Regions from separate parts of the Homo sapiens genome. Here region 1 is linked to region 2. Evidence: promoter capture Hi-C in human tissues and cell types (Jung and others, 2019). All regions are on one chromosome and are shown on one strand. The core of a region is centred on a gene start or on the middle of the fragment in contact, and the rest is flanking DNA. Distances in the headings are between cores, read along the strand shown. Region 1 overlaps CPT1A (carnitine palmitoyltransferase 1A). Region 2 holds the start of GAL (galanin and GMAP prepropeptide).

Evidence for each region. The method cuts DNA at HindIII sites, captures the fragments that hold promoters and counts their contacts. A contact is called where the count stands out against the background at its distance.
Region 1: a contact is called between a fragment that was not itself captured here and the fragment with the promoter of GAL in region 2, in 2 of the 25 tissues and cell types used here (H1 embryonic stem cells and dorsolateral prefrontal cortex).

Annotation. Positions count from the first base shown.
Region 1 is chr11:68,767,531-68,771,049 of GRCh38, reverse strand. All of the region lies in intron 14 of CPT1A (carnitine palmitoyltransferase 1A), which reads left to right. Among named protein-coding and RNA genes, the nearest start is that of TESMIN, 18 kb to the right of the region's middle. The HindIII fragment of the contact is 3,881 bases long and covers 147-3,519 here.
Region 2 is chr11:68,682,262-68,685,801 of GRCh38, reverse strand. GAL (galanin and GMAP prepropeptide) reads right to left here and starts at 1,258. Exons shown (of 6, transcript NM_015973.5): 1 at 1,070-1,258; 2 at 798-878; 3 at 154-208. The coding sequence starts at 878. All of the region lies in intron 2 of LOC107984343 (a long non-coding RNA gene), which reads left to right. RefSeq lists enhancers at 512-1,187, 1,864-2,539. The HindIII fragment of the contact is 15,033 bases long and covers 1-3,540 here.

The DNA of each region.
Region 1 (3,519 bases), core at 838-3,337, 84 kb before region 2:
AAGGGGCACCAGCCACTGTGCCATGTACTTGGCAGGAGCGAGCGAAACTTCAGGACGGCCCCGAGGAAGGCATCTCTTCATCTCTGCCCTCCACACTCGGAGGTGAAGCATCTTGCCTGAGGGCTCCAGCTCGTACGCAGCAGGACTGAGATCGGAAGCAGGCAGGCTTGTTCGAGAACCTGTGGCTCTCATCACTGTGCTGCAGCTAAACGCAGAAAAAGGAAGCACAGACCAGCTTCCCGCATGAATGGAAGTGCAGAGACCCTCCATAAAATCTTAGCAACTAGAATCCAGCACTGTAGGAAAAGAATAGTCACCCACAGTGGCGTACACCAGCGGTGAGAGGCTGGTTTTGTGTCAGTAAATCCAGTCATACACTAAACCATACTGTTGGGTCAGAGAAGAGCCTAGATAGTGAGTTTCACAGATCCTAAGAAGACGTTTCACGTTTAACATCCATTCCTGATAAGAGCTCTTGGTCAAGGGGCTTAGTAATAGGGCTCTTTCCTTAACAGGATAAGTGGCATCGTGTATTAATAGCTAGCTACTGCTTCAAAGTAAAAGTGTGGGAGGCAGTCCCCTTAAAACAAGAAAGATGAGGATGCCTCTAGCAGATGACAGGGTAATTGGGCAGGAAGAACATTTATGTCTGTTCAGGAGATGGAACAGCAGAAAGGCTTTGACGATTAAGAGGCACACCCAGTGAGCCGGCCCAGCGCAGAGTTGCACAAAGACCACCAGCTTTCTTGCACAAGGATGATGGCCAAGTGGGAAATATAATAAGAGAATGTAATAGAAACGAGAATCTGGGGCCCCACCTTCCAGGCATACGTGTATAAAGCAGACTGGACTCTGGGAAGAAGGCCGAGGAGCACTCGCCCCCCAACTCCTCCCCAGGGAGAGGGAGAAAAAGCCATGATTTTGGATGAAAAAAAACTTCAGAACCATAGAGGAAGGGATGTTCCCAGTTCACACTGTTTTTTTTTTTTTGAGACGGAGCCTTACTCTGTTGCCCAGGCTGGAGTGCAGTGGCACGATCTCGGCTCACTGCAGCCTCGGCTGCTCACTCGGCTCCCAGGTTCAAGTGATTCTCCTGCCTCAGCCCCTCGAGTAGCTGAAACTACAGGTGCCTGCCACCACACCTGGCTAATTTTTGTATCTTTAGTAGAGACGGAGTTTCACCACGTTGGCCAGGCTGGTCTCGAGCTCCTGACCTCAAGTGATCCGCCTGCCTCAGCCTCCCAAAGTGCTGGGATTACAAGCCTGAGCCACCATGCCTGGCTTAGTTCACACATTTAATATGAACACAGTGAGAGGTCAGGCAGGGGCTTCAGGAGAGGAGCTTGCCCAGTTGATCTTGAGGCTTGAAAAGGCTAACATTTGAGAGTCACCTGTAACATTTTTGAAAAGAAAAGCAATCAGGCGGAGGCAGGACACGGGGAGGTGGACATGTACTTTTTCAAATCCTAAAACTTAAAGTGTAGGAGTTAGAAGACTGTTGTGATTAAAGTGGTCTCAGTCCTATAATCCTAGCACTTTGGGTGGCTGAGGCAGGTGGATCACTTGAGTCCAGGAGTTTGAGACCAGACTGGGCAATATGGGGAGACTCTATCTGTACAAAAAATACAAAAAAAAAAAAAAAAAAATTAGCCCAGCATGGTGGCGCATGCCTGTAGTCCAAGGTACTCCGGAGGCTAAGGTGGGAGGATCACTTGAGCCCCGGAGGTGGAGGCTGCAGTGAGCCGTGATCGTGCCACTGCACTACAGCCTGGATGACAGTGAGACCCTATCTTTAAAAAAATTGTTTTTAATAAAAATAAAATGCTGCAGTCCTCGTACAAAAGCAGGCCTGGGAAATAACGTGTAATGGAGGGAGCATTTGACATCAGTAGGGGACGGGGAGCTGGTGAGTAAATGGAGCTGGGAAATCTGGCTAAGTGGTTGCCTTTGGAAAAAAATAATCCAAGAGAAATAAGGAGTCAGACCAGAAACTGTGGTTCACAAGAGAGGAAAAATACGGTCAATGAGTGTAGGTAATAAGCTTAATCTTACCAAGAATCTAACAAGTACAACTTAAACAAGACTAGATTTTTGCCTACGGGGTTGGTAAAGGCTTTTTTTCATGTTGGTGAGGGTGGACTGAGGCAGGGATGTTCATAGAGCAGCTGGGAATAGTTTTAATAAATTTAGGGGCCCCATGGCAGGACTGGGAGCAGCACAGACCACACAGTTGGAAACATGCATCGGGGAAGAATAACTTTGACCCTGCACATGATCCATGAAAAAGGGTAGGTACACAAAAAACACGTGTGAGCAAGCTTACTGTAAAAATGTGAGGAAATCTGGCCAGGCGCAGTGGCTCGTGCCTGTAAACCCAGCACTTTGGGAGGCCTAGGCAGGTGGATCACTTGAGGTCAGGAGTTCGAGACCAGCCTGGACAACATGGTAAAACCCCATCTCTGCTAAAAATACAAGATTAGCTGGGTGGTGGTGCACACCTGTAATCCCAGCTACTTGAGAGGCTGAGGCGGGAGAATCACTTGAACGTGGGAGGTGGAGGTTGCAGTGAGCCGCCAAGACCACGCCACTGCACTCCAACCTGAGCAATAAGAACAAAACTCCGTCTCAAAAAATAAAAAAAGAAGAAGAAGAAATCTTAAAAGTTAATGCTGGCAGGCCGGGCACAGTGGGTCATGCCTGTAATCCCAGCACTTTGGGAGGCTGAGGTGGGCGGATCATGAGGTCAGAAGATCGAGACCATCCTGGCTAACACGATGAAACCCCGTCTCTACTAAAAATACAAAAAATTAGCCGGGCGCGGTGGCGGGCGCCTGTACTCCCAGCTACTCGGGAGGCTGAGGCAGGAGAATGGCGTGAACCCGGGAGGCGGAGCTTCCAGTGAGCCGAGATCGCACCACTGCACTCCAGCCTGGGTGACAGTGCGAGACTCCCTCTCAAAAAAAAAAAAAAAAAAAAAAAAAAAGACTGGAAACTAGAAAGTGTCTGAGACAGGTCTCAATTTATTTAGAAGTTGATTTTGCCAAGGTTAAAGATGCGTGCCTGGGAGACAGGCCTGTGCCTTCCTCCAAAGGTGGTTTTGAGGGCTTCAGTATTTAAAAGGAAAAGCAGGCAGGAGGGGAAGGAAGGGAGGGCGTGGCCACGTTACGGAATTCCCATGATGCAAGAGAAAAGGGGCGGTAGGGGAATCGTCAGTTACATATTTGTTACACAAAACCCGGTGAACCCAGAGTGGAGACATTTCGCCTTTTATCCGTCACTCTGTGCTTGGGAACAAAAGAAAAAGGCAGCTTCTTGCACGAAGCTTTCAGTGTAATCCTTTCCTTTCGGCAGAGTGAATCTTCCTTTCATGATACTAAATTAAAATAGGGTATTTTCACACAGCGGAATATTATATAGCTATTAAGTGATGTCTAAGGCATATATATGTGTATATATATTTTTGAGACAGGGTCTTACTCTTGCCCAGGCTGGAATGCAGTAGCACAATCACGGCTTACT
Region 2 (3,540 bases), core at 9-2,508:
CAGATCAAGTGTGCAGAGCAATGGAGACGGGCAATGAGGTCAAGAGGGAGGCCAGAGGGTCTGCCCAGCCGCAGGCGGAGGGGCAGGAGCCAGGGTTCAAAGCGAGGGGCAGGTGGGGTCAGGAGTGGGGAGGCCATGCTGTCAGTCACTTACGTGGGCCCAGCAGGTAGCCCGCGCTGTTCAGGGTCCAGCCTCGTTTTTCCTTGGCCTTGAAGGGAGAAAAGGGGATCAGATGCCAGGGCTGTGCCTGGAGCCTATGCTGAATGGGTGCACCCAGGCTTTCCCGGCATGGCAGAGGACTTAGAACAATGCATGTGCTTTTGGATAGCTCGCGAAATTCCAGGTTTACCCCTAAGTCGGCTATATTTGACATGAAAATGGAACCACTTTATTTACGAAATACTTCACTTGAGGGCCTGAGCCCGCGCACTCTCAGCGCACTGCACCTGCTTTAGTGACGCTGAGGCCACGCCAGTGGCTCCTAGCCCTCCATTCTAACTAAGCCCTGCGGAACGGGCGAGCTTCTCGCTTTCCCGAGGCGCTGACCCGAAGCGCAGAGCTCTCCCGGCGGCCTGGTTATAGCCCGGGGCTGTTGATACACTCGGAGAAGCGCGCGGGGGGAATCCCAGGGAGCCCCGGACCCTTCCCGCGACGCCCGCAGCCAGGACAGCGCCCGCCTTTCCACTTTCCACCCCCATCCCCGCGGGCAGGGCGGAGGCTGCCTCCTCCAGGAAGCCCTCCACGCCCGGCCGGCTCTGATGTCCCCTTCGCTCGGAGGAGACGCGCCCCGCACTTACCGGCGACCAGAGCCCCGCAGAGGCAGAAAGGGCCGCGGCGAGGAGGAGGGAGGCGAGCAGGAGGGCGCTGCCTCGGGCCATCTGGAAGGGAAGGACAGGGCGGGCGGGTCGGAACCCGGAGTGGGCTGCGCCCCGAGGCAAGGAGTGCCGGGGCTGCGGGGAGGAGCAGAGGCGGCGGCCGGGCCAGGGCCCTGGCAGAACCGTCCCTGGGCAGAGGAAAGCCGAAGGGGAGGCCTCCCGGGGGCGCAGGGTCGGCCCGGCGCCAGTAGTACCTTGAGCTGCGGCTGCGCCCGGGTTCGGAGCGTCGGGGTCCGGGTGCGGTGGCGGGTCTGGGCGGCAGGTCCGGGCGTCGGGCCGGGTCGGGTGGGCTCTGGCGGCCTGGGGCGCTCACCGCATGGCGCGGCCGGCAGCAGGGGCAGAAGGCGCGGGCCGGGTCCCTCCACGTGTCCGCCGCCCGGTGTGGCCGCCGCCACCGCCGCCGCTGCTATATATGCGGCGCACCCGGGAGCCGCCCGGAGTCGCGTCACCGGCTCAGCGCCCGCCTCCTGCACCCTCGCCGAGCCCCGAGGGCGACGGGAGTGACCCGAGCTCGGGTCCTCTGGGCCATCATAGGCGGGTGCGGCGGAGAGCCCCCCCTCATCCCGCGGGAGAGACTCCCCCAAATCTGCAGAGAGAACCCCAAACCCTGTGGGAGAGACCCTAATCCCGAAAGACAGAGCCCAATCGCCCCGCGGGAGAGCCCCCAGACCCGTGGCCCAAGTCATCGCTGTGGCGTCAACCCCACTGCTCCCCCCGGGGTCCCAGCCCCAGAGCAAGCCTGACCCCCCACAACGTCCCACGCCTGCGGTCTCCCTGCAGCTTCTCCTCCCAGCCCCTACCGCTGCAAAAGCCAGCTGAGCTCCGCAGCACTGGAGACCCCAGAGGGTGACGGGCAGGGACGACTCCTCAGTCCGAGCCAGCCCCAGCTGGGAGGTCATGGGGTACCCGGGGAATGGCGGGCAACACTTGGCCCTGCGCCCTGGCCGGCTTGTGCTGGGGCTGGAGCGAAGGTTCAGGCCTCGGGAGCCGTCGATGGCGGGGAGGGCAGGCGTTCCCGGCTCCCTGTGCCCAGCGACCTCCCTCCTGTTTCACTAAAGGGGGGCTGTGGATCTCAGGGTCTGCTTGGCCATCCCATTGTGGGAGCTGCGGGACCGTCGAGCATCCACAGGCACCAGCTCAGAAGCTCGGCCTCTCAGTGCCTCCCCTGGCTGCCTGGTCCAGTTGTAAGAGGGAGCTTTAAGCAGGTCCAGCCATTGGGCAACTGGTTAGGTCCAGAGGGAGAGCAGCCCAGACTCCCAGAGGCCGCCAAGGGGTGGGCGGTGGGCAGAGCAGCAGCAAGAGGCTGTCCTTGTGCCCAAGGCAAAGACATCCCACAGGAACAAGGCCCTCCTTGGCTCCTCCACAAACCCTTCCTGAGCTGGGGCCAAGTCCCGAAACAACCCAGGAGAGAACCCAAGCCTAGGCTGTTCCTTCACCCCATTCCCAGGCATCAGGGGAGCACAGGATCCCAGGCATCACACTTGTACAGTGTGGCACCTCCGGGCTTCCGAAGAGCACGGGGTCATCTGCTGAAAACTCGCCTGACCTCCCCTCCCACTGGCCAGACACCACCCAAGTCCTCAACAGCAGCAGCTGGGTTAGGATCTCCCCACCCACTGGGCTCAATATCAGATGGGTTGATGTCACATCTGTGGGTTGATGTCCACAGGGCACAGGACGAATGATGATCATGACAGTGTCATCTTACCTGTCCTCTACACTTTAGTCTTGGGAACCTTTGCACAGACAGCTACAGGCTGCCCCCAGGAGAGATCCGTCTGCCTCCACGTGGCTGGGGAAGGACAACTGGGCTTTCAAGAACTCTGGCGAAGGCCAGCGGCTGCTGGAGAAGGTGCAGGGCTGCAGCCTGGTGGCTGAGTGTCTGCTGTGGTTTATGGGAGGAAGAGGAGGAGACAGGACTTGGGGAGGGGTCTTAGGAACAGACTCCTGGCACGACAGTGGTGAGGGGTGGGGTGTTCCCAAGGGCACAGTTTGACTTCTGGTCATCCCTATTTCTTGCAGCCTGGGGAGAGGAGAGTCAGGCACAGGGGACCCTAACTAGGACTCACAGGCTGATTTCGGAGCCCACAGTAAACCCTGAAGTGGTTTCCTGCCGGGAGTGGGGGCGTGGGAGACAGTGAGTCGCCATGAGAGTCTGGGCCAGCCGTGGGCAGAAGGACAGCCGAGAGGCGGAGGAGCAGAGGGCACGTTCCTGTGACTCTGCAGAGAAGTGACAATGATGTCCTCTCATGCCCCATGTCCTTGTGTCTAGATGACATCAGGGAGTGGGCAGGGGCTGGGCTCATGGGTGCCTCTTGGCTACCTGAGAAATACTGCAACCTTTGGCCCCCGGTGGTAGTGGGAGCCCTGCTACCATCCCAGAGCTCTTTCTTGCTTTCTGCTGAGAACAAATCCAGCCCAGTGCATAGCACATCTTAGTCAATTCCAGCCTTCTCCTTTCTTCCACGTTAGGCCCCCTTCCAAATCCTGCCAGAGCTTGACTACACTTATTTTCTCTATTTACTTTGTCACAGAGGCTCTTAGTCTGTTTAAAGGAGCACAAACTCTAAACCTAAATCCTTGAGATGGATTCGAAAAGAGACTCAAAGTCCATCCCTTAGTCATGGGCTGGAATTTGAGGTACATTAAACTTTCAGCTGTCTTC